Linked DNA regions of Homo sapiens: region 2 is linked to region 1. Evidence: promoter capture Hi-C in human tissues and cell types (Jung and others, 2019). All regions are on one chromosome and are shown on one strand. The core of a region is centred on a gene start or on the middle of the fragment in contact, and the rest is flanking DNA. Distances in the headings are between cores, read along the strand shown. Region 1 holds the start of TBX15 (T-box transcription factor 15). Region 2 has its middle 65 kb from the start of SPAG17.

Region 1 (4,661 bases), core at 2,162-4,661:
AATGGGCTGTGAAAAAGCAAAAGGCCTCGTCTTTGAATGAAAGTTAAACATTAAAATCTGACCCTAGAGTTGTCTAAAGATCGCGGAATTTTGAAGCTCCGGCAGAGCGGACTAAAAAACGGTGCTATGAGAGATGGTGAGAATACTCTAGGCATGAACGTGTGCGTGTGTGTTTGTGTGTGTGTGTGTGTTTCATTCTTCCCGCAAAACAATTTTTTGTTTTTTTCCTATTCCCGGTTTGTTATCGGCCTAGGGCGGGAGAACCACGCAGCGGCTTCTGGGCCCTAAGGACAAAAGAGTTAAAACAATGAGGCTCACCCGGGAAGAGACGCTGCCCTGGGCACAATAGGGTCGCCTGCATTACTCCTCCATACACACATCTTTAAATGTGTCCCTGTGTGTGTTCGTTAGGGTGCTGTATTACAGAAAAAGAAAGGCCTAAAAACACCCCCAGCCCTGGTCGCGCCTTTCGCTACCGCCTGAGTCTGGAGCCGACAGCTCCACCTCTTCTGCTCCCTGGACCGCCGCGTCTCCACGCCACGGCGCCCTTTTTACTAAAAGATCTTTTCTCATCCTATCAGCAAATCGTTAAGAAAGGCTTAGCCATTGCGGGGGCTCCAACTTAAGGATTCCCCCGGCCCACTAAAAGGCTAGGCCCGGCCTGTAGCCCAGCTCCGCAGAAAGCCAGAGGGTGCTGGGCTTTCAGCTTCTTCCTCCTAGACACTTGCCCCACAAATATATTTCGTTTTCTCTAATCCAAATACCCATCTTTTTCTTTTTTAAAAAATGATAACGTAATGGGAAATGACCAACCGAACTCTGTTACATAAAGTTAGTTCTGTTAGATCTTCCACCCCACCCCCATCCCGCGGGAGCGAGTAAATAGAATTCATGAGCTTAGCTCCCCAGGTTCACGCTCTGGAATGGTTTCTTTTTGCCTCATTCCCTAAGTTTTCTCTCTTCTGCCTCCTGAATGGAGCTCAGGCTAAGGAGAACGGCAGAAAGAGCAAACTCTGATCTGAATCTCTAATTATGACCCCATGTATTACCCATTTGAACATAAGGCCCTAGACGGGCTCCGTGCGATCTGGGGCCTCCCAAGAGAAAACTTCCCCGGGACAGGACGTCTGCCACGCGCAGCTAAACAACTTCTGTTTTTTCCGCCGTGGGGAAAATAAAAGAACCTTACAAATTCTAAGGCGTCATAACCCCTGCAAGAACTTCTAACTGTATGAAGGCCCACGCGAGATTTTGACAATAGATAAATGAGCTGAGGAAATAGGGTCTGGCCAGCGAAGGGAAACACACAGTAGCCCTGGGTGCCTTTCTGGAATGCCCACGCAGGGGTCCGCGTGGACAAGCACTTGCATTCAAATACAGGAAAAGGCTTGGACGGTCGAAATAAATCTCCTTTTAATTTTCTTTTCATCGACTAATAAAAATAATTCCCCAGCACTAAACTCAAATACCGTAACGGGCCACAAAAACACGGAGAATTCATAAAACTCTATCTCTGCAGGTCACCCGCTAATCGCATTATTATTAGCCTCGGGAGCATGGAAATTGAACTGTCACTGCCTAAAGAGAAAATGTAAGCGACAGCTGTCCCTCCTCTGAGTTGGACAGCTTTGTGGCTGAGATCCCCAAGCTCCTGAGCCCCAGACCGTCTCTATCCCAGTGCAGGCCGCTGCCCCCTCCCCGGGCTTGTCAGCGTGTGAAGCGGGGTCTACTCCCCAGCTCTGGCTGTTCAGCAGGAGCACCTTCCAGCATGGTTTTAGAAGTCCGGGCTGGAAAGCTTCTGAAACCGCTAAACCAAGTTGCGAGCGTTGTATGTGCGCGCGCGCACACTCAAGATTCTTCCGACAACAGCTGTTCCCCCGGGCTGTTTTTGCACAGTTGAAATCTTGGCACTTAACACAAAACGTTAAAGTTGGCTTCTCCCCTCCTAGGGTTCTGTTAAAATACAGACATGACATCCCCCCTGCTTTTTACATGTTCCGTGCACATAATATACATGGGTTACTGTAGGATCTGAGACACAAATCAATCGTACCCACACCCTAAATACACAGAGATGTGGGCCCTGAAGAGTGACCCAAGGAGTAAGGGGTCTAACATCCATTCTTGTTTCCGTAAACGCCAAAGGAGTAGAAATATAATTATGTTCCACCATCGAAAAGTTGGTGGGAGAAAGGCAAGGACGAGGTTGAAGGCTAAATGAGACAACTGGTCATTCCCCGAAGACTGAGGTATTGGATTGGAGAACGCCGCGCCAGTCCTCCCGAGTTCTCAGAAGCGAGTCCTAGATCTCGGCTCCCGCCGTTGCCTTCGGCCCGCGCCCCTCCCAATCCCAGGGACCGGCAGCCCTTCATCCACGGACACCCAGAAAGCTGCGCTCTCCACCCAAAAGAAAAAGAAATGCAAACAAACAGGACTCCTTGCTTAGGCTGGCGACGAAAATGCAAGGCTCAGTCCAGCCCCAAAAATTGGTTCCGGTGAATTTAGGGAGGCTCAGGGCATTTGCGCGAAGAAACAGAAACCTATGTTGGGGCAAGGCAGGGCGTCAATGGCAGGGCCTAGCTCCTCACCCGCGACCGGCGACTGGCCCTTCGGCGTCCCCTCTCCGCCCGCCTCCCGCGGTCGGCTGCGACGCACTCACCCGGGTGAGGCTCCAGGCCGTGTGCCGCCGCGTCCTCCGTGTCTCCGAGTGGGCCCGCGGGGCTCAGCGCCTCCATAGACAGGTCCAGCCCCTTCTCCTCCCAGTCTCGCAGTTTCCGTTTTTTATTTGAGCCGATCAAGGCTTCAACGGAGAAGGCATGTGCTCGCGAGCTCAGGGCGACTGCAGATCTTCTCCTTTCACTCATTTTAGCCGCCCACACCCCTGCCTCCGCTTGCCCCCGCTACCGAGGGAGCAGCCGGCGCCCTCAAGCTCTGAGCGCCCACCGGGCCCGGCCCGGGAGAGGCGGAGGCGCGTCGGACGAGGCTGAGACTGCGGCTCGCGGGTCTCTCCACCCTCCCCCTGCGTCCTCCTCCGCCCTCCTCTGCCGGATCCGACCTGCGCCCCTACGCTGGCCCAGCTGCTAGGAACTAGCGCCCCGAGCGCCGCCCGCTCGCTGCATGAGCGCCCGAGTCCTGCTTCCCACCCACCGGGGCAGGCGCTCACAGACTGTGTCCACTGAACTTCATCTTGTTTTTGTTATTATTATTATTCTCTCTCCTCTCTCTCTCTCTCTCTCTCTCCCCTCCCTCTCTTTTTCTCTCCTCCCCCTCTCTCTCTCTTCCTCTCTGCCTTCCCGTCCTCCCTGTGATCCAAACTTCTGGGAAACTTTTTTTTCCGCTAAATTCCTCCCTTCCCGAGGAACAGGGGGCAGGCGGTGCGCTCCTGTCCGAGGGGTGAGGGAGAGGGAGGGGGAGGAAGAAAAAGACTGAGGGGGAAAAAAGCCAGCCCCCAACCAATAGCGAGGAGGGAACAAGAGAAACTCCGAGAGCGCGAACCAATGAGAGGAAGGGAGAGACTGAGGCCCGGGCCAAAGCGCAGCGCCAGTCGTCCCCTGGATGCTCCTGGGCCGACTTTAACCCCTGGCTTCCCGGTTTCCCCATGGGTTACTCCAAGAGGGAGGTAGGACAGTTGAAAGTTGAGGTCTGATCTGCGCCTTTACAAACTCCTGCAAATCCCAAATCCATACGTTTTTCTTCCAGATCTGCTGGTCTCATAGACGCTGCAAGTCCAGAGTCACTTTAGTTGCAGATCTGGAATTTTGGGGCTCTGACAAAATGTTAACCTGTCCAAAATGCCAGAAAACGATTCTGATAATTTCGCGTCAGCCCCTAGGTGCTTTAGAATATTCTGGTTCCTCCTGGATTTCGCCACACAGGTTTTAATGTTCCTACTGAACGTTTTCTAAGCAAATCTGGGTAAGGCAAAAGGAAACAAACAAACAAGCAAACAGAAAGCCCTGTTACTAACCAGGGTCTTGTAACTGAAAATTCAAAGACCGCTTCCTCCTTCCAGCTCTACCTGGTGGAGAAGGAGACACAGGCGCCTTGAGAGCAAGGGGCGGGCGGCGGAGCGCGGGGTTTAGGGCGAGCTCCTCAGGCGTATTCCAGCTGGGCCCCCTCACGCCGCAAATACTCTCTTTCCCTACGGCCCGAACGCTGGGCTGCGCTTCGCCTGTTCCGGGCTCTTGTTGCAGAGAACCTATGGAGAGGTGACAGGCAAGAACAGCTAGGAACTTTAACAGAAGAGAAGGAGCTTTTTCAAAATTCCCTGCAAATCCCGTTACCTCAAGACCATGGCTTTCCCGGCCAGCTGATCTCCCCCCTGGCCGCCCCCTGCCTTTTGCGATCTCTAAGGACTGCATTCAACATGGATTTCTAAGGAATTAAAAAATCCAACGCTCCTGGCCATTCTTAATTCCCACACCTCTTCCCAAGTTACGCCACCGGTCGAGGACGGCAGGAGACCCCCGAGTGCAGAGAAAGCTCAAACCGGCAGCGAAGTCGGTCCTAGCCAAGCTGAAAAAACGTCTCGGATTTCGCGGACAGCGGCCTAGACACAGCCCGATCTTCCAGTCCTAGTGCCCTGGTCGAGACGGTTCTATCCTTTTGCAAAGAAGCCGGAAAGAGCTGGGTCCCGGGGGCGGGGGACAGACTGAGAGGCC
Region 2 (4,661 bases), core at 904-3,403, 740 kb before region 1:
TGGGCTCAAGTGATCCTCTTGCCTCAGCCTCCCAAGTAGCTGAGACCATAGGTATATGCCACCACACCTAGCTAATTTTTAAAGTTTTTGTAGATACAGGGTATCCCTATGTTGCCCAGGCTGGTCTTGAACACCTGGTCTCAAGTGATCCTCCTGCCTCGGCCTCCCAAAGTGTTGGGATTAGAGGTATGAGCCACTGTGCCCGGCCAAAATAAATGTGAATTTTAATTTTGTTCAGCTTAGTTGTGTATCTCTAGCAAGTAGCTTAAGCTTGCAGAACATAAATTTTGTCATCCATAAAATCTGTCTACACCATATGATTTATAGTTAGCTCCTTTGATGTGGATCAATTGACAAAACATTAATGATGTAAATTATAAAGTGCTATATTAATGTAAGCTATTTATTACTATTTTTATTATGTAGTAGACTTATAGGAGAATATATTTCTGAGGAATATATTTCTTTTATTTAAGTTTCCCCTGTATCGTGTCCAGGAAAGCATTGGGAACCACTGGAGTTCCCGTAGCGCTCAGAGGACCCAGGTGAAACCAATCATTTTCTTTGCTCCAGAGGAGAGAGAGAAAATATTTTTGTATTGCTGGTGAAGTGAATGCAAAAACATTATTTATGCAATATACTAAAGAGTGTATTTTTTTCATCTACAAGGAAAAGATGACCCCAATTTCCAAATGTATAAAGTGGTAGAAATCCTTTCACAACACAGAAGAACCAAAGTCATCAAAAATTTTCATTATGAACCAGAGCTTTTTCCTACTGTACTGAGTTTTACAAGGAGTTCAGCAGATTGCTTAATGTTAAGAGTAGAGAGTCTTAAAACATGTTTGGATCTAAGGCTACAGATAGAAGGCAGAAACAAATGTTTGGAAACCTAAGTGAAATAAAGGGGGAAGAACAGGTTTGAGGATTAGGCCATTGCCACCCATGCTTCTTTGGCCTGTTTATTTTAGGATGAGGCCTGTCTATTCTTGATTCTATGAGGGGATTCTATTTCATTTCATTTTCCAATCATAGGCTGCTTAACACCACTTAAGCCAATAACTCTCTAGATCTTACCCCATGGGTCCAACTTCTGGTAAAGTCCATACATGCCACTCTTCTGTTAGGCCTTAGGTCATTTTAGCTATTTCAAAGGCCAGAGAGTTTACAAATGTGGGATAAGTCATTTGTTATTCAAGGATTGCTTGTCATTTACAAGAGGAAAAGAAAGAAGTCTCAAAAACAGTTGATTTGGTCATGGAATATGGGTGGAAAATTTTGATGCAGACACAGTCATAGACTGAAGAAAATTCCAATGTTTTTTATGCTATTTCTCCTTTCTTCATGTTCCTATATTCTAGTGAAAGGACTAAGAGGAATCTTGGTTCAAAAAGTAAAGGGGTACTGCTCTTGGGTGACAGGGAACTGTCATTTGGTATTAAAACTCTTCTTCTTGTGCTTAATTAATCAAACAGGTATTTCTCAAGTGAGTATTACATTTCGGGCACTACATTAAGTGCTGGGCATAGAAGGAAAAGCAAAGAGAAGACACGAGACACTGAAGAAATACCATTCGAGATAGGCATGGGCATCAGGCAGTTCAGAAGCAATCTCTAACAAGGTCAGCAGAAAGTTGAAAGTAAGAAAACAAGATTTTGCCTGCGCTTCCCTGCAGCAACAGCTGTGGCTTCTTGCAAAGCAATTAAGCCTGTGGCTAGGATTCCAGTCCCATCTCATCTCAGCAGCCTCGCAGCCTTGGAACTTTCTTGATGGAGACTCTTAATCGATGGCATTTCTTTGTTTTTGCCCTGGCATCTCAGATGGTGGCATTCCCGAGGCTGATTAGCTCCAAGTTCCTTCCCTGTGAAGCCAAAGCCACCATGTAATTTCCATTAGACCTGAAAATGATCCTGATTTAAAGCTTAGATGGAGCCCATAAGCCATCATCTAATCATACTTAAAAAGTTACTGGCCTGGGCTGTATGTTCTTCATTTCTTTAGTAGTAAAATCATTCTTAAAAATATATCACTCTTTGTGAACCATCAAATCAGCCTGATGACAGCCTAGTTTAGAATTGAGTGCTGCAGTAAATGTCAGAACTCTGATGCTGACTTTCTGTGTGACTTTGGGTAAGCTACTTAACTTTCCTTCTTTTATTTCTTTCTCCTGTTCTTTCAGTACCTTTGATATGCCAGGCTTTAAAACTAGACTTGGAGGTAGGGAGGTAAAGGTAGGTGGGTGAGGAGGGGAAGAGCCTACGAAGATAAAGGAAACCTGACCCCTGCTCTGGAGAGAAGCACAGTTTGAGGAAATAGCCTTGAAAAGCAAATAATTAGCACCCCACCGGACAGCACTGCCACTGAGGAGTATGCCAAATGTCGTGGGAGCACACAGGAAAGAGACTCATTCCTTTCAGAAGATTGTGTAGGGGAATTTGACAATGCATCCCAGAGGTCCTTAACAATGAGCTGAATTGTAAGGAATTAAGAGGAATTTCCTGAGTGGAGAAGGGGGAAAGACACTCCTAGTTGTTTTATCCTCAAAAAAAGATAATAATTTTGAATCCTGCTTAGCTCTCAAAAATATTTTGAGAGCAGATACATAAAACACAACAAACTTGGTAGCCCAGCTCCATGACTATCAAAGCTCTCCAGCTCAATGGAAGAATGGTGCTACATTAGACTTATAACTTTTTTATTGTCGTTGTTTTTTTTTTAAGTTAGGGCCTCACTCTGTTGCCTGGGCTGGAGTGTAGTGGCACAATCGTGACTCACTGCAGCCTTGAACTTGGGCTCAAGGGATCCTTCTCACCTTAGCCTCCTGAGTGGCTGGGACTACAGGCATGTGCCACCATTCCTGGCTATTTTTTATTTTTATTTTTTGTAGAGATGGGGTCTTGCTGAGGCTGGTCTCGAACTCCTGGGTGTAAGTGATCCTCCTGCCTCAGCCTCCAAAACTGCTGGGATTACAGGAGTGAGCCACTTGCTCCTGGCCTTCTGATGCCTCCTTTGTCCTGCACCAGGGAATGCCTGTCAGTTTTCTTCCCTTGGCAAATGAGAGGAGAGGACCTGCTTATGGCCTGCTTCTTTATCCTCTCCTGGTTTGTGCTGATGCTGGGCTGATACAGCTGTGACAATGATGCCTCTCAGAGCTGCTGTGGAAGAGGATAGTGCAGCGTCTGAGGAGTGAGCGTCACCTTCCCAGGAGCAAGGCTTCAAATTTCCTTCTCCGACCCATTAGAGAGGGAGGTCTTTCTTACACAGCTTCTTAGGAGGAGCAAGAGCAAACTCAGCCACTCAGCTCTCCACATCTGTCCCAGTAAGGGTCCCCTACAACTCCCTTGTGTTCATAACCACCATGACTCTGGTTGCTTCTACATGGGTATAGCTCCCCTAAGGATGAAGGAATATGTGTAGTGACAAAAGAACATGCAGACATTTCTAAAGATGTCTAAAGCCTCGGGGTTATAGGGATTTAGTGTCTAATCAGTCAGTAATAAAGAGGACAAATATCAGGTGTGTCACCAAGTCCTGCCTCAGTGTTCCAAGTTATTATGCCAGACACTGGGGTTCCTATGGGAAGTCCTGGATGCAAAAAACAGGAACTGGCCATGTCGTTTCCCATGCCATGTGAAGTGTCTGGACCTCTGTTGCCTTGTCCAGGACAGTGTGGAGGGGAGGACTTAGCTTGTATGGTTCTTCAGAGCCCTGCCAGATCCTAGAGCCCTTGATGCTTGAGCCTCCCATTTATGGGAGACTCAAATCAGGAGAAGGCTACGTTTATTACAAGGGGATGGGGATCTGAAAAACTGATTTAATAGAATAGGAGTATAAGAAAGCATTATATGTATATATAAGAAAGGTGCTACATTTTAATACACCGTATTTGTGAGCACTAGCTTGTGTTTGTGAGTGCTTTAGTCATCTCCTTAGATAGTATTATCAATATTATCAACCTGATTGTATAAAAGTAGGAAAAAAGGTTCACAGGAAGATTAAATTTAATGTGTGTTACTGAGCATGGTATGACGCTAACATCCTCCTCCCTTCTTGCCAGTTACAAAAGTAAGCCTCAAACAGCATGTAGCTGTTTCAAGAATAAGCATCAGAGAAAATGCAGGAAGCAGTAAGGTTGGAAGAGACAGTTGGTTTATGAGGCAAGAAAGCCAGGTTTTAGACTTTTCCCCACTTTCTGTCTTTGTGCAAACTATCATTACTTTTAGTGCCTTAATTTCTGTTGTTCTAAAATTCGGGGTGGCTTAAAAGAACTACAAGAGTATAATTGGATTGTTTGTAACACAAAGGATAAACGCTGAGGGGATGGATACTCCATTCTCCGTGATGTGATTATTGTGCATGCCATGCCCATATTAAAACATCTCACGGACCTCATAATTATACATACCTACTATGTACCCAGAAAAATTAAAATTAAAAATATTTTACAAAACTAAATAAAATTAAAGGGGTCAATGTTTGCCTCATATTGATGCCTTAAGGGCAACTTCAGAATAATGACAGGTGTGCACTAAAGGCTTTCCGGAGACAAAGGTGCAAGGGGCTGGTCCATGCACACTGCCTGGCTGCGGTGGGGTCTTTGTGTTTGGCTGTGGTGATATGTTTCCCTGCAGGAGTCTGTGGTGTGTGTGGGTGCATGTGGG

The links. Contacts are between HindIII fragments. The study calls those that stand out against the background at their distance.
Region 2: a fragment that was not itself captured here is called in contact with the fragment with the promoter of TBX15 in region 1 in 2 of the 25 tissues and cell types used here (H1 embryonic stem cells and mesendoderm cells).

The regions. Positions count from the first base shown.
Region 1 is chr1:118,984,932-118,989,592 of GRCh38, forward strand. It overlaps TBX15 (T-box transcription factor 15), which reads right to left and starts at 3,412. Exons shown (of 8, transcript NM_001330677.2): 1 at 2,660-3,412. The coding sequence starts at 2,864. RefSeq lists enhancers at 282-959, 2,279-2,812, 2,813-3,345. The HindIII fragment of the contact is 7,773 bases long and covers 1-4,661 here.
Region 2 is chr1:118,248,123-118,252,783 of GRCh38, forward strand. No RefSeq gene overlaps it. Among named protein-coding and RNA genes, the nearest start is that of SPAG17, 65 kb to the left of the region's middle. The HindIII fragment of the contact is 5,287 bases long and covers 1-4,661 here.